Regions from separate parts of the Homo sapiens genome. Here regions 1, 2, 3, 5, 6 and 7 are each linked to region 4. Evidence: promoter capture Hi-C in human tissues and cell types (Jung and others, 2019). All regions are on one chromosome and are shown on one strand. The core of a region is centred on a gene start or on the middle of the fragment in contact, and the rest is flanking DNA. Distances in the headings are between cores, read along the strand shown. Region 1 overlaps CTNNA1 (catenin alpha 1). Region 2 overlaps CTNNA1 (catenin alpha 1). Region 3 overlaps CTNNA1 (catenin alpha 1). Region 4 holds the start of PAIP2 (poly(A) binding protein interacting protein 2). Region 5 overlaps CTNNA1 (catenin alpha 1). Region 6 overlaps CTNNA1 (catenin alpha 1). Region 7 has its middle 69 kb from the start of LRRTM2.

Region 1 (2,700 bases), core at 181-2,680, 440 kb before region 4:
TCCCAAAGTGCTGGGATTACAGGCATGAGCCACCGTGCCCGGTACACCAGCGATCTTTGTTAGTCACAAAATGCTAATTTTTTCAATGATCATCATCAGATTTTATGTTTGTTGTTCAAAATGTCGTCTTAAGGCAGTGAAGCAATAGAAGTTGTAGATTACTCTTCATGAACACATCTAATTCAAGCTTTCTCCTTCAATGAATATTTGTTTCCTTTTTTTTTAAGTCTTACATTTTACAAAATTTATCTTAGGTCATATTTTGCAGTGATTTTTTAAGCAAACAAATAGAAATCCCCAGTCATCTCTGTAGATTTGTCATCCTGAAAAGAAATGTCTCTCTGCTTGGGTCCAGATGACAGAGAAGGTGGAACTGTAAGTGTCAGGGAGTATAAGTGTTGCTTCTTTATGTGACTTTGAAGGACTCATAAACATCAGAGATCTGACTTTCCAGTTCCTTTACATTTTTATGTTTAAATTGCACGTTAACTTCTTTTGTTTCTCCTTGTGTTTGGGCATTGCAGGATTCTGATAGTTAGCAGTCTTATAGAAAGCTGATAATCCTTAACTGTAGCACTACAAACAACTGCCGTAATAGTGTATAATTTTTCTGATGTGTTTATGTGCTTAAGTTGGGCGGAGGAGTGAAAATCAAAGGTTATTGCCATTGCCCTTGTTTACTCTAGCATTTAAATTCCCAGAAAGTGCCTCTGATATTCAACTGCCTACGCCTTTATCATTCATAACTCAGTTTGCAACTGGGGTAAAGATGTGTCTCAGTACCGTGTATTCAGTTGGGCCCAGATATTGCTAATGGAATTGGCAAGCCTGTTCATTTAGAAATATGGATAAGTGATCACAGCCTTAGCAGTCACTACGCAGTAACATTCCAGAGCTTCAGCAAAGGAAGTATGACACAACCTGGAAAGATTGTTCCTGGCCACGTGAGCTGTATCATTGAGATGGCTGGACGGGAAGGTAAAGATTTCGGTTCAAATTAAGCCGCATCAGCCAGGAGAGATTCAAGCTGTCAGTGTTTTTGAGAACCCAGTTGAAGGGCAGTTTTGCTTTTAACTATGAAACATAACCAGTTTCCTTTTCCACTTTTGATCATGATTGCCTTTGGTCCATCTTGATGTTGTCTTCATGTTATTTTTTTTTGTTTGAAAAATTGTCTGGTGTTCAAATAAAATTCATCTTGCCTTAAATTAAGCATCTATTCCCTGTCAAATGAGCATAGCACCTTAGAGTTTTTTATTTCCTTCCTTCAAGAACACTGCAAAACACATTTTTGAGGATAACAACAGTTCTTTCCTGATGCCCTTGATTCTTCAGCTTTTCTCACCTTATTGCCCATACTAGAAGAACCTTTTTCTGAAGTTACTGTTCAGGCGGGTTAGAGGCCATGCAAAGCATGTGAGTTACAGGCCCTGGGATCTTTCAAGGTTTTGCCACCAACCTGCAATGTGATGTATGTTATGAGTCTGTATAGTTTGCTTTGTGTAGAGTTAAAAATGTGTCCTCATCTAAGTAAATAATCAGGCTGTGAGAAGGGAGGCACCCTTGGTGCCCTTGTCATCTGTTCCAGAATGGTCAGAGGTAGGGCCAGGTGTGTGTTTTTTCCTTAGCAGTCAAAAGAGAAAAATCTTTAAAGATTATTTTTTATGTTTATAGGTTGCCAACTTGGCCTGTTCCATCTCAAATAATGAAGAAGGTGTAAAGCTTGTTCGAATGTCTGCAAGCCAGTTAGAAGCCCTCTGTCCTCAGGTAAAGTACAACTGACACTGGTGACAGCATAACCAAATTAAATTTTGATTCAAGTGGAGATGAGGTTTATTTTGTTAAGTTTTGTTTTGTTTTTAGGATTTTAGATGGAAGTCTTGGGGACAGATCACTGACACAGAACCCACATAGTTTGGAATATTTTTTGTTTAACATTAAGTGACATTTGCACGGGAGATTACATGTTACTCCTGGCCCTTCATTGAAAATGCACAGTGGGCTGGGCACGGTGGCTCACGCCTGTAATCGCAGCACTTTGGGATCCCAAAGTGGATGGGTCAGTTGAGCCCAGGAATCTGAGACCAGCCTGGGCAACATAGCAAAACACCATCTCTTAAAAAAAAAATACATATTTTGGCCGGGCACAGTGGCTCACGTCTGTAATCCCAGCACTTTGGGAGGCCGAGGCGGGCGGATCACGAGGTCAGGAGATCGAGACCATCCTGGCTAAAACGGTGAAACCCCGTCTCTACTAAAAAAAAAAAAAATTAGGTGGGTGTGGTGGCAGGTGCCTGTAGTGCCAGCTACTCGGGAGGCTGAGGCAGCAGAATGGCGTGAACCTGGGAGGCGGAGCTTGCAGTGAGCTGAGATCGCACCACTACACTCCAGCCTGGGCGACAGAGCAAGACTCCGTCTCAAAAAAAAAAAAAAAAAAATACATACATACATACATAAATACAAAAATTAGCCCAACATGATGGCGTGCACCTGTAGTCCCAGCCACTCAGGAGGCTATGGTGGGAGGCTGGCTTGAGCCTGGGAGGCAAAGGTTGCAGTGAGCCGAGATCACACCACTGCACTCCAGCCTTGGTGACAGAGTGAGACCTTGTCTTGGTGGGTTGAGGAAGGTATGGTGCCTTCCATTGCTGGAAAATACAGGGTGGCAGTGACCACAGTCTCCTTGAGGGAGAGTCTACA
Region 2 (2,700 bases), core at 108-2,607, 470 kb before region 4:
CCTGAGACAGTAAGACTGACTCCTTTTCTTTCTCTTCCTTCTCGGCCTACTCAATGTGAAGACAACAAGAAGGATGAAGGCCTTTATGGTGATCCAGTTCCACTTAATGATAAATGTATTTTCTCTTATGATTTTCTTTCTTTCTTTTTTTTTTTTTCTTTTTTTTTAAGATGGAGTCTCACTCTGTCACCCAGACTGGAGTGCAGTGGCATGATCTCAGCTCACTGCAACCTCCACCTCCGGGTTCAAGCAATCCTCCTGCCTCAGCCTCCCGAGTAGCTGGGATTACAGGCGCATACCAGGTTGCCTGGCTAATTTTTGTGTTTTTAGTAGAGACAGGGTTTCGCCTTATTGGCCAGACTGGTCTCAAACTCTTGACCGCAGGTGATCCACCCACCTCAGCCTCCCAAAGTACTGGGATTACTGGCGTGAGCCACCATGCCCCACCATGATTTTCTTAATAACATTTTCTTTTCTCCAGCTTATTTTTGTAAGAATACCATATATCATACATATAACATATAAAATATGTATTATTTTGACTGACGGTATTAAATATGTGTTATCTAATATGGACTGACCGTTTATGTTATCAGTAATGCTTCTAGTCAGCAGTAGCTATTAATAAAAATTTTTGGGAAGTCAAAAGTTATGCAGATTTTCGACTGTGTGGAGCAGGGGGTTGGCACCCCTAACCCCAGTGTTGTTCAAGGGTCAATTGTAGTTTAAAATCTTCCCTTCCTTTTCCCATCTGTACTCACTGAGTCGTCATCCAGGGTGGAGGAGGTCATGTAGGGATCTTCATGGTCCTAGTGTGTAAGCACCTGTGGGACCTCCCTCCTAGGAGTGGCATGGAAGGTGCTGCTGGGATGGACATCAACCAACCCCCAAGGTAGAGGCCAAGTCGCTGTTGGCTAGATACAGGCAATTGGTACCTTTCCGAAGCTCTCTGTGGTGTTAGTTCACTGTAATGGAGGATTCAGAGAGGGGCAGCCAACTCCATGCCCTGTGAGCCTGGGACAGTTGTTTGTCCACTTGCTCAGGCTCTTGACAGAGCAGCTTCTTACTGCATGACAGCTTTTTAGGCACTCTCCCTTCTCACCACTTTACCTTTACTTTCTTCTTATCCTAGTTTTACCTCTCTCTGAAGACAGGTAATGATTAGCTGCCCCTTTTTTCAGTGGACACATTTGACATTGTAGAGGAACATGGAATAAAACAACTGTTCATTTAAGATTTCTATGTCTGTCACAAATGGCTTTTCAAGTTTCACATGTCAAAATTGATAGGTTATCAAGGAAAAGTAAAAAGAAGGCATTCACTTTTTACAGTATACACAATTTTAATAACAAAACTTGCCTGTACACTGCTCTTTATGTTACCCTCCCCCCTCCCAAAACACCCTGCATAATAGTATTTTCTTCCCACCCTCAACCCATCTGCCCACCTCCCACCCAAAAAGAAAAATGGCTCTTGAAGGTGATTGAACACAATGTATTTGGACTGTACTTTGAGTTTCCAGTCTCAGTGTTGATAGGAAGGTTCACCAAACATTCCATATATCAGACTTAAAAAAAAAAAAAAAAACCGCTAAGGACAAAAATGTTAGTTGAAAGAGTTGCAGAGGTTTCCAAATGTTTGCAATAGCAGAATGAAAGCTTAAACAGTAATTTTCTATTTGTTTTTGGCCTTATTCAAGTACTATGAGTTTGCCCCAGGTTAGATAGAGAAATATTTAATTATCTATAGATGGCCTTACTGTCTCTCTCTCTTTTTTTTTTTTTTTCCTGGCTCAAGGGCTTTAGTCAATAAGATATGAAAAGTATGCCCCCAAACAGACTTTTCAGATAGGTCTGTCGCTGTATTCCTGTATTAGGAAAACGATCATGTAAGTCAGCTGTTAAAAATATTCTTTAACAAATTTTATATTGATATCCACACTTCAGAAAAAGAACAGGACATTTATAGCTTTTTCCCCTGATAGCTGTGTGTAGGAAGTGTGCCTTAAGAAAATGAAATGCCTGTTTTGAATTTTAGAATTCAAACCTAGTGCTACATAGGGCTCATTTTTATTGGAAAGATGGAGTCTAGCTCTTGGTGACTAGCATTAGAATAAGCAGATGGATTTTAATAATTAGTGGCGTTGGGAAGTTCAGTCAATTCCATTTATTGAATTGATACAGAAATTAACTTAGGCACATTAAGAAATTACATGTGTTAGTACAGATTTTTGGCTTAAAAAATTAGTATCTTTGCTTTTTGATGCTGGCAGTGGGTATTCTCAGAGTTGTGTGTGGATTTACAAGTTTATCAGCCCACTCTTTTCAGAAAGGTGATTGAAATCCCTGTCATGCTACAGAAATGAATATAAACGATTTCAAACTAGTTCTTGGTTTCTAGATGGGTATGGTATCATAGTCTTCTTTAGCTTTCCTTTTTCCAGAGAGATTAATTATTTTTCTGGTTCTTAATGGTCATTTTCCTCTAATCTTAAAAATAGAAAAAAAATGGAGTGGGTAGTGGTGGTGAAGAGGATAAAACCCCATCAAAAAACAAAAGCTCTGACACTGTGTAACCAAGATCCGCAGCGTTGCTGTGATGCTGTTCCGTTCTAGCCAGTTGGTAAAGAAAGCACAGATGACTAACAGTCTAATCTTCAAACCTGTGCTGATTCTGAAACACAAATGGACAAAAATGAAA
Region 3 (2,700 bases), core at 201-2,700, 420 kb before region 4:
ACCTAGAAAGGTTTTCAAGTGAAAAAGATACAATAGTGTCCATAATATAATTCCTTTTATATTCATTTACATATAGTTGTCTGTATTTTGTATGGACTGTTATATGTATGTGTATGAATTTTTTTCTATTAGAAGCACACCTATAAATAATGTATTGAACAGTTGTTCATGGGTACAGATTGTTGTGTCTACTCATAGTGGACCTATGCTGTTTCCTTAGCTAAAATGATGTATGGTTTCAGTTAAGTGTGGGCAGAGCCTGTCCCCCTCTGTTGAACAGTGGACTCGCACCTCCCCCCATCAGGTTCAGTTGTGGAGAGCAGGCTGGGTGCTCTGTCCTGGGTGTGTGGTAGCCTCAGCGAGGCTGGGGCTTTCCTAGAGACAAGTGTTTCATGAGGGTAGAGAATATTACTTTGGTCAGCTTCCTGAAGTGGGGAATATTACTCTAAAAAATGGCACACTCTTTCCTGGTTTAGGTTCATCTAGAAGGCGGCCAGGATGAATTCAAGAAAGTCTAAATGGATTAAAAAAAAAAAAAACCGTAGAAGTATCTAGACAAAGGTTAAAAAATCCTTGGTGGAAGTTTGGGTCACTTTTGAACGGAAAGGAATGCCATACTTCATTGATTCTGAAATAGGGATGAGTCTTAAAATCAATGATATGAGAAAACACTGGTTCTTAGTTTTGCTATCAACATGATTTCTTTCAATTGTATTCCTTTCCTTTCCTTAGCAATGCAAGTTTCATCTTAACGGTATTGTGTTAGATCCAGTAAAGCAGCAGTTTTTAACCCAAGACCTCGTATGGTAGTCCTGCTCAGTACATTTGTTTAGCTTGAATTATTAGAGTTTATATATTTTAAAAATGCTTGTGATGGGCTCCAAATCCATTTATTCTTGTAATTGGTTTAAATATCCCTCTTAAAATGTGTTTATGTTAGAAGTTTAATATGTTTACTCTTTTCATTAGTTCAGTGGTATAAACCCTGGCAAGTCTCATAATTTGTAATTAATAGAGACCAAAATATGGTCTTAACTATATTGCAGTAATCTAGTTTTCCCTTCTCTAATAAGAATTCTTACTGTTTCCTGGCCTTCCCTGGAAAGGTGTTTTTTGTTTGTTTTGGCTTTTGTTTTTGAGACAGAGTCTCACTCTGTTGCCCAGGCTGGAATGCAGTGGCGCGATCTTGGCTCACTGCAACCTCTGCCTCCTGGGTTCAAGCCATCCTCCCGCCTCAGCCTCTAGATCTGTATCATCCACTTTAATGGCTGCATAGTTCCCATAATTCATTTATCCACCCTTCTCTTGGAGATTTTGGTTGCTTTCACGTTGTTACTACAGATGAGTTCGAGCAAACCCTTTGTGGTGGGGTTCCTAAAAATTTATAGTGTCAGGCTTTTTGCTTTGAGGAAAAATAGTTTTGGTGTGTTGCCCAAATTCAGCTGTATGACTGTTAGGAGCCACCCATCAGCTTCATAGGAGTCAGGGGTTTTCACCTCTAGGGACCCTTCAAATATCACAATAAGCCCATCTGTGTACCATGAAGAGGGTTATTAAATAGTTCATCTCACACCTCAGGGTCCTCTAGAGGAGGCTTCAACCTGCTTTCCAGCACCTTCTCCTATCCCAGGGCTGTACTGGCTTCTTGGTAGATTGTCTGAATATCATCAGCATCTCCTGGAAGGAGAGGGAGAGGGGACAGTGGACTTTTGTTCTAATTTAGCCTTTCCTTTATTTGGGACATAGAGTCAGTGAAGCTAGAGGAAGATAAGTTATTGATGCTTCTATGATAATTTTCTGCCAGAAAATTACAGAACAGCTGTGTCTCAAAGATGGGCATGTCTCCTGTTTTTTTTGTGTGTGTTTTTTATTTTTTGTTTTTTTTTTTTTAAAAACCTGGAATGAAGATTGTTATTCTTGGGGGTGATAACAGGTTTAGTTTCTGTCTCTGTCACTAGTCACTGGTCTCTCCAATGAAGTATATGTAAAACTTTCAGCACTGTGGCTGGCACCAAGCAAACAATAAATGATAGATGCCAGCTTACAGTTGCCACCTTTTCATAGAAAGCCTCCTTCCTCATTCAACTTTTTGCTTGTTCTCCAGAGAATCACATTTTGGAAGATGTGAACAAATGTGTCATTGCTCTCCAAGAGAAGGATGTGGATGGCCTGGACCGCACAGCTGGTGCAATTCGAGGCCGGGCAGCCCGGGTCATTCACGTAGTCACCTCAGAGATGGACAACTATGAGCCAGGAGTCTACACAGAGAAGGTTCTGGAAGCCACTAAGCTGCTCTCCAACACAGGTACGGGAACTCTCCCTTTCCAGTGCTCGCACACACCGCAGCCTCAGTGAGGCAGGCCACCCCATTAGCCCAGCCCTGTGGTGAGGAAGGAGGAGTTGGGAACTCAGATTTGGTCTCATGGCACATCGGGCTCCTGAGAAGCTGGTCATAGCCAAATTCAGGCCTCACAAGCATATTTTCTTCATCTGTATCTCATGAGTAATCACGGGACTAATTCTAAACACACGATTTAAGATGAATTTCTGAGTTAAATCTCCTATTAGTGAGTAAAGACTAAATTAAGGTAGGTCCCATTCTTAAGCAAGGCTTCAAGTTAGTCTCACTTCAAGTTCTCAACCATCCAATCTCTGTTGCAGAGAAAAAGATGATTTGAGTCGTAAAATACTGCATTTAAT
Region 4 (2,700 bases), core at 190-2,689:
AACCATCTGCATTCATTTCTTTGGGGCTTTGGACTGGCCCAGAAGAGTATTCAGTGAATGAAATAGCTCTGAAGAGGAACAACCCGGTTTCTAAATTCAAGCCTTCCCATGGAGGGAATTTTTTGTCTTAGTAAATACTACAAGCATATAGTTTTTAAAAGATTCAAATTTTTCAGGAGAAAAGGATAGTTATTTGCACCCATTTCCTAGTCGGTCATTTGCCCTCTCCAAAGGGAAGAAATTAGTTTGTGTCCCTTTTTCAAAGATAGTATCTACACATTTGAACATCCAGATTTGTAAAACACATACTCTCGGCCGGGTGCGGTGGCTCACACCTGTAATCCTAGCACTTTGAGAGGCGGAGGCGGGTGGATCACGAGGTCAGGAGATCGAGACCATCCTGGCCAACACGGTGAAACCCCTATCTCTACTAAAAGTACAAAAATTGGCCGGGTGTGCTGGCGTGCGCCTGTAGTCCCAGCTACTTGGGAGGCTGTGGCAGGAGAATCTCTTGAACCCGGGAGGCGGAGGTTGCAGTGAGCCGAGATGGCGCCACTGCACTCCAGCCTGGGCAAGAGAGCCAGACTCCGCCTCAAAAAAACAAAACAAAACAAAAAAACAAAAACATACTCTCTTCTTTACATTGCTTAGTGTCACTAGAAATATATCTTGGGGCTTGTCAACGATGACAGGAAGGAAGCATGGGTAAGAATAACTATGGGGCCAGTGCACCCAGGATCACGGACTACAAAATTCTTGAACCCGGAGGTCACACTTTTCTATCCTGTGTGGACAGGGCATTTCCTCCTTTAGCCACAAAGAAGTTGCACATGTATTTGTATTTTGCGTTTGCATCCAGCTTCAAAAAGTGTGTTTTTGTGCCTGCACATGTCTGAGTGCGGATGTTTGCATATCATTTAGTACGCCTCTGTGATTTCCCTTAGTTTATTATTTTTCTGTGTCAGGATCTTGACGTGACTCGGTGCATGTCGCTGTTTGTGTGACATTGTGTATCATTCTTGGGGTGTGTATGGGTATGTGTGTGCTATGTCATTACCTAAATATTACGTTTTTGGGGGGGTGTGTGATGTCTGTGAAAGTCCACGCCTGTGTATCTTGTCAGGGTGCTCTTCAGTCCCCAGCTGCCTCACTCATTGCATATCATCATTCTCGGAAGATGGGCGGGTGTGGGAACAGTGGTACGCCCCCATTCCTGCCTTCCAGAGAGAACGTGCGACAGCGTTCCTGCTACACCCGGCAGCCGGCCGTAGGGGCGCGCTGGAAAGGCTGCTGCGCGTGCACACGTGTGCAGCCTTGGAGACAGACTTCGGGGTCGCGCGTTCTCGCGCGCGCTCTCTAGTGGCTTCGGAGGGCAGAGCTGACAGAACAAGAGGGCGGGGTTGGCGGCGACGGAAGTGAAGTCACTTCCGGGCTGGGGTGTTTGTTTGGACTGGAGAAGGGAGGCGGCGGGCGAAGCGCACGTCGAGCGGGGGAGCGGCGCTGCCTGTGGAGATCCGCGGAGGCCGACAGGATTCGTTGGCTGCCGTCCCCGCTGCTGTGCATTGGGTGAGGGGTCCTCTCGGGCAGAGTGGCGACAGGGGTGCGGAGGTCGAGGGACAGCAAGTCGGCGACGGCAGAGGGGCCTAAAGGGTTCCCTGGGTGGTTGGCCACCGAGTCCATTGCGGCCTCCGTTGTTCATTGCCTCTTTCCACCAAGTCTGAGGGATGAGCTTGGGCCGACTTCGTCTCTGTCTTCTCCGAGACATGGCCGTCGCTTTTTTTTCATTGTCATTATTAATGATTTGGATCTCGCAGCTCTCTATCCGGGTCCTCAGTGGCGCGAGGGTTGCCGGGATAGCACTTTCTCCTGTTCCTCATTCTCCCGGTCCTTTATCCCTCCGCCGGGTACCCTTTCCCCTGCCCCCCTCCCACCGCCTCGGCAACAAAGCTTATTGTTTCTACCCACTTTACGCCTGCGCGTCGCCACGCGCAGCCCCTACTTGCTGCGCGTGCGCGCCTCAGCCGAGGCTGGGGTTTGGGGAGAGAGGGGCGGAGGGACTGGCGGGCTCTTGGCGTCTTGGGGGAACGCTGCAACCGTCGACGGGCCTGATCAGAAGATCGTCTTTCTCCCGTTTCTTCGCCATCGCTACCCCTTATTTTTGGTTGTATTGCAGCTCATGCCCTGGAAAAAAGAACCTTTGGGGTACTGGGAACCCTTACCCTAGGAGGGCGTTGAGTTAGATGAACTTTAAGGTCCTCTTACCTTTTAATAATTTTCTGTGCTTACTCTCCTCCTTCCCCACCATCGCCACCAGAAATAAATAAGGCTTGTGGTGAACTTAGGTCTTCAAAACATTTGTTGCAGCAGCCAGCAGTGATATTTTTTAGGGACTCCTAAAAGGGGTCTTACCTGCTTCCTTTTGTTTCTTTTTTCCCTGATTTGGCACCCGTATCAACTCATAAAAACCCCAAACTCTAGAAAGAATTTGGCTTCCAATTTGCCTTGGAAGGTGTAGCAGCTGACAGCCTTTGACGTTTATTTCAACGGAAAGTAGATGTTCATGTTGGGTGTGCTGGCTAATGTTGAAACGTGGTGGCATTGTTTTTTCACAGATTTCATTAGCACAGTTAGATCAGGTGTTGGTTTATATTTTCATTAAGTCGCTTTTGAAATTTCTTCTGGCGTAGGTTGTGTTTGCAA
Region 5 (2,700 bases), core at 201-2,700, 460 kb before region 4:
TTGGCAGTACAAGAGTGCTAGGGGGAAAGGCTTAAGGAATGAGACCATAACCAGATTTGATAGTGATCATATCAATTTTACTTATATTTCAACTCTTACTATTCCCTGTTGTCTCCTTTCTGCCCTTTGCTAAATAACCTATATCCCTCAATATTTCTAACAGTCCATAGAGAGATAGGTGGCATTTTCCACAATTGACAGGTAAGGGATAAGAGATAAAGTGAATAACAAATGTACATTAAAGGCACTTAGTAAACAGATCTCCCCATTCCTAACCATTCATCTGCTCTACTGGCTTGTGTACTAAGAGCATACCCATACCAAAATGTCTTGAGGGCATCCAAAGGGAGAACAATGGGCTAAATTCCTTTGTTCATTTGTATCTCTCCTATTATTTGCTGACATGTTTTTCAGAAAGAACCGTATTTGTTTTGCGAAAACAAGCTTTTAATATACTTTATATATACTTTATAGTTTAACCTACATGATGTAGGCATTTCCAGGGACACAACAATCTCCACCTGGGATTTAAAAAAAGACTTTTGTTCCTTTTCTTTCAACTGCTATTTTATTCCATTTGATTCTGCTTAGAATGTTACCCTGGCAAATCTCGACTCAGCACCTTGACCTCTGAAGACATGCTGTTTTACATACCACTTCAAGAGTGACTAGCGGGTTCTTTTCTGTGCAATATAACTGCATTAAAGCTTAGTCTAGGATTTTTTTAAAGTGACCAAAGTAATCCTACAAAGCATTATGATTTGAGCTGCATAATAAACATTATTAGCTCTGACCTATCAGGTACATCTTAGTTTTTAAATTTGTTGTTTCACATTGTTTCAGTGCCAGGTCCCATTTTTCACATCTTGACATTCTTCAGATCTCAGAGTTCATCAAAATCAGGTGTACCCTGTTCTTGCTGCAGTTCAAGGAGAGCTGCTTCATTAATAAAATTGGTGTATGCTGAACCTTGAGTTAAAATATAAATTTAATTTTTAAAAGCCAAACTTTAAGCAAAGCTCTTTGTCTCTTGGCTTCTCTTATTTTGGCAAAACTCCCTCAATTCCAGTCATCAGATAATGTGGAGCCCAAGAATTGTAAGGTTGGGTTTTTATGAATAAAGCCACATAACACCCCTCTGCTCCCCAGTATTTTCCAACTTTGAGTTTAAGAAGTTGTACTGCTTTTTCAGTGTTGACATGAGCACAAATGGCTATAGGCTATCATTAGGTTTCTTTGTAAATGAATAAAATGCTCATCTCTTTTCCTTTTATCCAGGCTGGACGTAAAGAAAGAAGTGATGCACTCAATTCTGCAATAGATAAAATGACCAAGAAGACCAGGGACTTGCGTAGACAGGTAATCTGGATGAAAGTGCTGATTGTTTTTCTAAGTTCTCAATTTTGTAGTTTTGATTAAAATCCTAATAAGCACTGGCCTTATATTTTTTTATTGAGAGAAAGGATGGATTTTCACAAGAAAGTGCCTATCTTTGTTTTGTTGCTAATATGCTTCTTAATGGCTAATCAAATTTCATGAAGACATGGGATAATACAGTCTCACTGTGTTGGACTGAATAAGTTAGCTCTAGTGTGAAAGGCATGTACAGGTAGGAAAATAAATTTAAAATGACTTGGAGACCTGTGAAAATAATCCTGAAGGATCTTGTTGTATTGACTATGTACAATAGAGACAGAAATTTCAGTTGTTTATCTGACTTGCCCTATACTCATTACACACTTGCAGTTCCCTTAGATCCATGGTGAAATGTTTCCAGTTCCAAATATGGTAGGTATAGAGATATTTGAGGTGCTGAATTTTCTGAGTTAGTAAATACAGAGTAGAGAAATCGAACCTTTTAATGATAAATGACCCCATTAACATTTGGAGTCAAATTGAGTTTTAGTCTTTAAAGAAGTTAGAGTTGATTTTATAAAGCAATGTATTAAGACTTAAGAAGTTGTAATACAGACAATTTTTAAGAGGTAATGGACAGATATTTTATTGCTTATGTCTGATATAAAACAAAATTAAAGATAAAATATATCTTTATTCAATTTCCTTTTGGTGAAGCAGTATCAGAAATGGTTATAAAGAGAACCTTAAGTTTTAAGGTTCATAGTGTGTGAATCCTTTCAGATAAGCCAGATAACTCTTTTTTCTCTCTTCTCTTTTTATTTAGCCAATTAGGCTAATTATATATATATTCCAAGGCTATGTGCCAGTTCAACCCAGAGCTGCTTTCAGTTCAGCTTTTGTATTATTTAAGTTGTAAGCCCTAGTTTTGTAATTCCCAAGAAAAAAGGATATTGTCTTAAGAACTGAGATTCTGTTGCTGAAATGCTGTAACTGTAGTAATGTAAACCATTGTCTCCATGATCATGTTTCCTGTGTTGTAGATTATGTAACTGCATGGCTTACATGAGGGGTCCTCATGTAAGTGCAGCAAGTCTACCGTAAGCTTCATTAGATTTAAGTGTACAAGAGAATAAAAAGCAATCTATTTAATACCTTTTTGGTAGAAATAAAATCAAATTTTTACAATTTAATCATTAGCTCCGCAAAGCTGTCATGGACCACGTTTCAGATTCTTTCCTGGAAACCAATGTTCCACTTTTGGTATTGATTGAAGCTGCAAAGAATGGAAATGAGAAAGAAGTTAAGGAGTATGCCCAAGTTTTCCGTGAACATGCCAACAAA
Region 6 (2,700 bases), core at 124-2,623, 490 kb before region 4:
AACATTTGGGCAACTCCCATTTCTGTTGCTTTGGAGCTTAATAGTCATTAAGTTTGTGTTTCTTTATGTGGTACTGAGTAAAAGCTGAAAGTAGCAGAGATTGTATAGGCCAGTATATCTTTTGTTAGTTTTGAACTTGTTGGGAGCACTTATAATTACCTGTGTTTCTAGAGATAAATCAAGTGGCACCTCTGTTTCTTTAAGTTCTTCTTTACCTAGCTGAGATTCAGGGGTCTTGCTTCTTGGGTAATAAATTCTACCTAATTTGAAGCTTTGCTTTCCTTCCAGAGATGTTTGAACTACATTTACTAATGCATATATGCTGTTGGCATAAAGATAAATTTGTTATTGAAGGGATTTTCTATGGAGAGACTGTTCTAGTCTTGACAGCTGCACTGAGCATGAAAAGTTACCTAAGCTTTCCCAAGTCTATGTTTCCTCAACTGGGAACTGGGGATGATAATGGTGCCTATGCACCCATCATGGTTGCAAGTGTATAGAAAAGAGTCATGTAAGGCACAACCACTGCTGTTAATACTAGTGTTACTATTAACATTGCTATAACTAATAATTTATATTTGAATTGTTCACACTTTAAGTCCTCTTTTTTTTGTTTGTTTGTTTTTTTAGCTCTTCTGATTTCCAGTAGTTTCATAGAGCCATTGCATTTATCATTCTCCTCCAAGAGCTTAGTTCTCTCTCTGCTCCCCCTTTTCTTCTCTCTTCTTTTACAGTCATGGTCAAATACATTTGGAGAATTTTCCCTTTTACATGTGTATTCTGATAATAATGTCTAAAGACTGTGTCCCTGTTGACTGTGCTGCATAGCTTATTTTATTGCTCTCCATTTGTCTTAACTGTCTTGCCTGAAGTTGGTAGCTTTATTCCTAGATTCATAATATGCTCTCTTTACTATTAAAATGTGCATTTTGATTGGGCCTGGCATACTTTTTTTTGAGATAGAGTCTCTCTCTGTCGCCCAGGCTGGAGTGCAGTGGCGTGAGCTTGGTTCACTGCAACCTCCACTTCCTGGGTTCAAGTGATTTCCTGCCTCAGCCTCCTGAGTAGCTGGGATTACAGGTATGCACCATCATACCCAGCTAATTTTTGTATTTTTAGTAGAGACAAGGTTTCACCATGTTGGTCAGACTGGTCTCGAACTCCTGACCTCATGATATGCCTGCCTCGGCCTCCCAAATTGCTGGGATTACAGGCGTGAGCCACCTTGCCCTGCCTGGCATACTTCTTTATTGTTAATTCTGAGTTATCTGGCATGGGGAAGCATGGCTCTGATCGTCAGTGTTCATTCTCTGAATTGAGTTTTGTATAGGCATCTCTGTATAAAATTTCTTGATTATTCTTTCCTACTGGTTTTGGCTTTATTTGGTGATTGCATTTGAAGTAGACTGTTTATTTGAATACTGTAACTATTCATGTAGTTTCATGTTCATTTTTTATAAGTTGTATTTCCTCTCTATTTTTTTTTAAAATTAGCACTAGAGGAAAAAGCTATTATGAATAGGGTTTTGTTGTTTTTGTTTTAACAAACCCACTATCTCATTGTTTAAGAGAATTTACACACCCTAGAACTGGTTGAATAATTAACCAAAAACAGTAAACCTAGGCATAGCCTATGTATTTAAAAAACAAAAACAAAAACAAAGACGGTAGGACAGGCAGTGTGAGGTCTAGAAGTTCTCTTTCCCTTTCATGTTATAACATTCTCTGTCTTTAGAGCTCTTAAACCTCTGAAGAGAAAAATCTTATTAGGAAAATCTTTATAGTTAAGCAGGGCTGACTTTGAAGTGAGGCACGTGCGCTGGCTGGTATCATCACTCCACTTCAGGAGATGTGAACAGTTGCCATCAGATGTTATCTATGAACTTACTCATTGGATTAATGGTTATTTGCTTCAGAAAACTAAAGAGTAATAGGAGAGCAATTCATTTGCTGGCTTTCATAGGGTTCTTGTTTTGAAAAAGGTCTGTTGTTGAACTGAGATCCTTACAGTTGCATTTCCTTATACCTGATAAAAAGTTTTTTTTTTTAATTCTTAAAATAGGCAGTGCATTTACATGGCTTAAAGGGGTCTAAAAGAGTATCTAATGAGCATTGCCTCTCATCCCTGTTACCTAGCCATTCAGTTTCTCTTCTTACAGTTTCTTGTGTATCTTCCAGAAATATTTTTTGTAGATACAATAAAACACACACACACACACACTCTCTCTCTTAAGATTTTTGTGTCTTTTGACTTATATGGAAAGTTATTATACTTGATTGTGAAATAGGTTTTACTATGATAATTTGCTGACCTACACTTATTTTGTTTTTTTCCTCTAAAACAATGTTTTCCTAATGTTTATTTACTTTGCTCTTATGGCTACCCAGTCTGATTCCACATGCCCTCTTTTGGCCAAACCATCCGCAATTTGTGCTCTCCCTGTCTTCTATCTTTGCCTTCCTTCTTCTTTCTTAGATATTTAATCCTGGATGCCTCTATTTCTATTCACTGTACTATGGCATCAGCTTATAGTCCCTTAATTGCAATGAACTCTATGAAGCTCACATGTCTAGAATATAATCACTTTGGCTTCTTTCATGTTTGAATTGTTTTTCAACCAAGTCAGATCGAGTGGCCTTAGTCTAGGTGCTCTGTTATTGACTGTTCTGTATAATGTTGAGGATACTTCTATTTAACAA
Region 7 (2,700 bases), core at 35-2,534, 400 kb before region 4:
TGGAGTCTGCACACTTCTCACAGTCCTATGTCTTCACCCTGCCCCACATCCTTGTCCAGCTGCCCCCTGGATGCTGCCCTGGGCTCCCTGCCCCTCCTGGCCCCTGTGTCATCTATTCTCACCACAACAGTAAGAAAAGGTGAGGCCGGGCACAGGGGCTCACACCTGTAATCCCAGCACTTTGGGAGGTTGAGGCAGCAGGATCGCTTGAGCCCAGGAGCTCAAGACAAGCCTGGAAAACATAGGGAGACCTCTACAAAAAAATGAAAAAAATTAGCTGGGCGTGACAGCTTGCACCTGTGGTCCCAGCTACTTTGGAGGCTGAGGTGGGAGGACCACTTGAGCCTAGCAGGTCAAGGCTGCAGTGAGCCATGGTCACACCACTGCATTCTAGCCTGAGTGACAGAACAAGACCCTGTCTCAAAAAGAAAAAGGTGGGTTACATCAGGTCTCTCCTCTGCACCCAACTCTCAACAGCCCCACCTCAAAGAAAATCCCAGGTCCCTTCCACAGCCTCCCCAGGCGGCCCTCCCTTGCAACTCCTCCCTCGGTCTCTGCCTGCTCCAGGCCTGGTTCTCATGGCTTTTCCTGAAGTGCTTTGGCCTGTTCCTGCAGGACCTTTGCCTCTGCTATCCCCTTGTCTACAAAGCACCCCCATGGCTCACTGCTGCGCTCCTGTGCCTGGCCCCTCCTCAGAGGCCTTCCCCACCACTGAGGGGAAACAGCAGTGCCTACCCCTCTTCCCTTCCCACTGGGCTCTGTCTTCCTTGCCTGGCCCTCCCCTGAAGCATGTGTATTTATCATGGTCCAGCCCTCTCCCCTCCTGTCCTACCACTTCCTGCCCTAGAACAGTGCCTGGCTCGTAGTACCCAACCAGATTTGTTGAACAAATGAATGAATAAGCAGCAGCCCAGAGAACACCTGCTAGGATGAGGGCACAGCCCTTGGCAGGGCTGACAAGCTGCCGGAGGACCCGAAATTGTGGATTCTGCAAATGGCCACTCTCTGGCCTTCCTGTATCTTCCCAGGGCCAGAGCCCTTGCCCTGCCTGCCCCAGACTGGCCCTTCCAACTGCCCATCCCTGACTGCTACTCCTGCAGCCTGCAGGGCTTAGCCTGGCCATCACCAGCTCTGGGAGGCCTTTCCTTGGCTTCACCCAGCTCAGCAGACTTCTCAGCTCCAACTGCCTGACACACACGACTGCTCAACAGCCACAGTGTGAATGAAATAATGAATGAACAAGTGAACTCATAAAACCACAGCTGCTGAGGGATGGGGTGAGGACCTAGGCCCACCACCCTCCCTGCCATCCTCCCACACTAGGGCCCGGGTCAGCCCAGCCCAGGAGCAGGGACCCAATAATCACTGAGGGCCTGTGGGTGTCAGCCCAGCACACCTCTCAGCCCATCCCAAGACAGTGAGGACAGGAAAGCAGGCTCCAGCCCCACAGGAGGAAGTCCCACCTCCCCCGTCACCACTCCCTGCCTCACTTCGAGCCCCGGTCACACTCCTTGACCACAGTTCCCAGGATGGCAGCCAAAGGGAAGGCAGAGAAGGGGTTCCTTCCTGACCTGCAGACAACAAGCCGCGATGAATCAGGAGGCGGAGCCAGAACCCACCCCCAAGCAGCCCAAGCCCAGACCCTGGGGCGCCTCGCCACCCTCTCCCTGGAGGGTCTGCTTAACAGTCCAGAACGAACCTGGATGCGGCCAATGAGGAGAGAGACTGCAGCCCAACTCCCATTCCGATGCTCTGAGTGTGTGAGGGCAGAGTGCACGCAGTCCCACCTCCCAGGCCTCGGGCTCAGCAGCCTGGCGCTGGTCCAGCCCCCTCCCTACAGCCCCCAGGTGCCCGTTCCTCCATCCTCGCTCCCAGAAATCCTCTCAAGAGCACCTGGCCCAAAGCCTCCCTCTGCTTTACAGAATCGCTGCTGAGGGCAGCACACCTGGGGGCAGAGGGGACACTGGGGACTGCAGTTAGGCCCCTACTAGTGGCACTCCTCCCATAGGGACGCTTTCCACACCCCGGGCCAGACCCTGGTGGTCACAGAGGCCTCCAGGGCCAGCCTGGTCCTGACACAGCCGAGCGCCCGGCCTGGCCTCCCCACAAGGCCCCACACTCTCGCCTGTCCACTGTTCCCACTGTCCAGCCTTGGTGCTCACCTCTGAATGCTGAAAGCCTAGAATAGATTCATCCCCAGCCCAGCCCCAAGTCCTCCTGTCTTCCAAGCCTCTGCTGAGGCAGCCCCTCTCCCCATCAAACCTCACCTTGCCCCTTTCTCAAGTCTACGCTAGATCTTCCAACACTACCTCTAAAGCACCCCTTGACCTTGGCCTCATCCAGGCGCTGGCACCTCCTGTCTGAAACCTGCCTGCCCTGTTGTGGCCACACATGCCCGGCCATTTCTCGTGGTCCTCCCTCCGCTGCCTGTCAGTTCAACATCGTCCCCTTCTTGGCCTCCCATTCAAGCCTCCCACAGCACCATCAGCACCGCAGGCCCACTGCTGCCCCCACAGGCAGATCACTTGGCCTCTCTGAGCCATGATTTCCTCATCTGTAAAATCTACTTCGAAGACTCCTGCGAGGCTGTAAAGGCAGCAGGTACCCAATGGCTGGCAGACTGCGAGTCTGTTCCCCACTCTGCCCTAGCCCTGAGGCCTCCCGCCCTGGGGAAGCTGTTACTCCAGCATCAGCCTGGAC

The links. Contacts are between HindIII fragments. The study calls those that stand out against the background at their distance.
Region 1: a fragment that was not itself captured here is called in contact with the fragment with the promoter of PAIP2 in region 4 in 2 of the 25 tissues and cell types used here (adrenal gland and hippocampus).
Region 2: a contact is called between a fragment that was not itself captured here and the fragment with the promoter of PAIP2 in region 4, in 1 of the 25 tissues and cell types used here (hippocampus).
Region 3: a contact is called between a fragment that was not itself captured here and the fragment with the promoter of PAIP2 in region 4, in 1 of the 25 tissues and cell types used here (dorsolateral prefrontal cortex).
Region 5: a contact is called between a fragment that was not itself captured here and the fragment with the promoter of PAIP2 in region 4, in 3 of the 25 tissues and cell types used here (aorta, heart left ventricle and hippocampus).
Region 6: a contact is called between a fragment that was not itself captured here and the fragment with the promoter of PAIP2 in region 4, in 3 of the 25 tissues and cell types used here (IMR-90 fibroblasts, dorsolateral prefrontal cortex and lymphoblastoid cells).
Region 7: a fragment that was not itself captured here is called in contact with the fragment with the promoter of PAIP2 in region 4 in 1 of the 25 tissues and cell types used here (dorsolateral prefrontal cortex).

What each region holds. Positions count from the first base shown.
Region 1 is chr5:138,902,675-138,905,374 of GRCh38, forward strand. CTNNA1 (catenin alpha 1) reads left to right here. Exons shown (of 18, transcript NM_001903.5): 10 at 1,675-1,767. Among named protein-coding and RNA genes, the nearest start is that of LRRTM2, 29 kb to the left of the region's middle. The HindIII fragment of the contact is 6,719 bases long and covers 1-2,700 here.
Region 2 is chr5:138,867,604-138,870,303 of GRCh38, forward strand. The region is part of intron 7 of CTNNA1 (catenin alpha 1); the gene reads left to right. LRRTM2 (leucine rich repeat transmembrane neuronal 2) reads right to left here. Exons shown (of 2, transcript NM_015564.3): 2 at 1,318-2,700. Among named protein-coding and RNA genes, the nearest start is that of LRRTM2, 6.4 kb to the right of the region's middle. The HindIII fragment of the contact is 6,536 bases long and covers 1-2,700 here.
Region 3 is chr5:138,922,406-138,925,105 of GRCh38, forward strand. It overlaps CTNNA1 (catenin alpha 1), which reads left to right. Exons shown (of 18, transcript NM_001903.5): 12 at 2,105-2,305. Among named protein-coding and RNA genes, the nearest start is that of LRRTM2, 48 kb to the left of the region's middle. The HindIII fragment of the contact is 9,713 bases long and covers 1-2,700 here.
Region 4 is chr5:139,340,415-139,343,114 of GRCh38, forward strand. PAIP2 (poly(A) binding protein interacting protein 2) reads left to right here and starts at 1,440. Exons shown (of 4, transcript NM_016480.5): 1 at 1,440-1,566. The HindIII fragment of the contact is 8,924 bases long and covers 1-2,700 here.
Region 5 is chr5:138,884,934-138,887,633 of GRCh38, forward strand. It overlaps CTNNA1 (catenin alpha 1), which reads left to right. Exons shown (of 18, transcript NM_001903.5): 8 at 1,279-1,359; 9 at 2,557-2,700. Among named protein-coding and RNA genes, the nearest start is that of LRRTM2, 11 kb to the left of the region's middle. The HindIII fragment of the contact is 4,201 bases long and covers 1-2,700 here.
Region 6 is chr5:138,847,787-138,850,486 of GRCh38, forward strand. The region is part of intron 7 of CTNNA1 (catenin alpha 1); the gene reads left to right. Among named protein-coding and RNA genes, the nearest start is that of LRRTM2, 26 kb to the right of the region's middle. The HindIII fragment of the contact is 5,446 bases long and covers 1-2,700 here.
Region 7 is chr5:138,943,139-138,945,838 of GRCh38, forward strand. No RefSeq gene overlaps it. Among named protein-coding and RNA genes, the nearest start is that of LRRTM2, 69 kb to the left of the region's middle. RefSeq lists a silencer at 1,059-1,271. The HindIII fragment of the contact is 6,636 bases long and covers 1-2,700 here.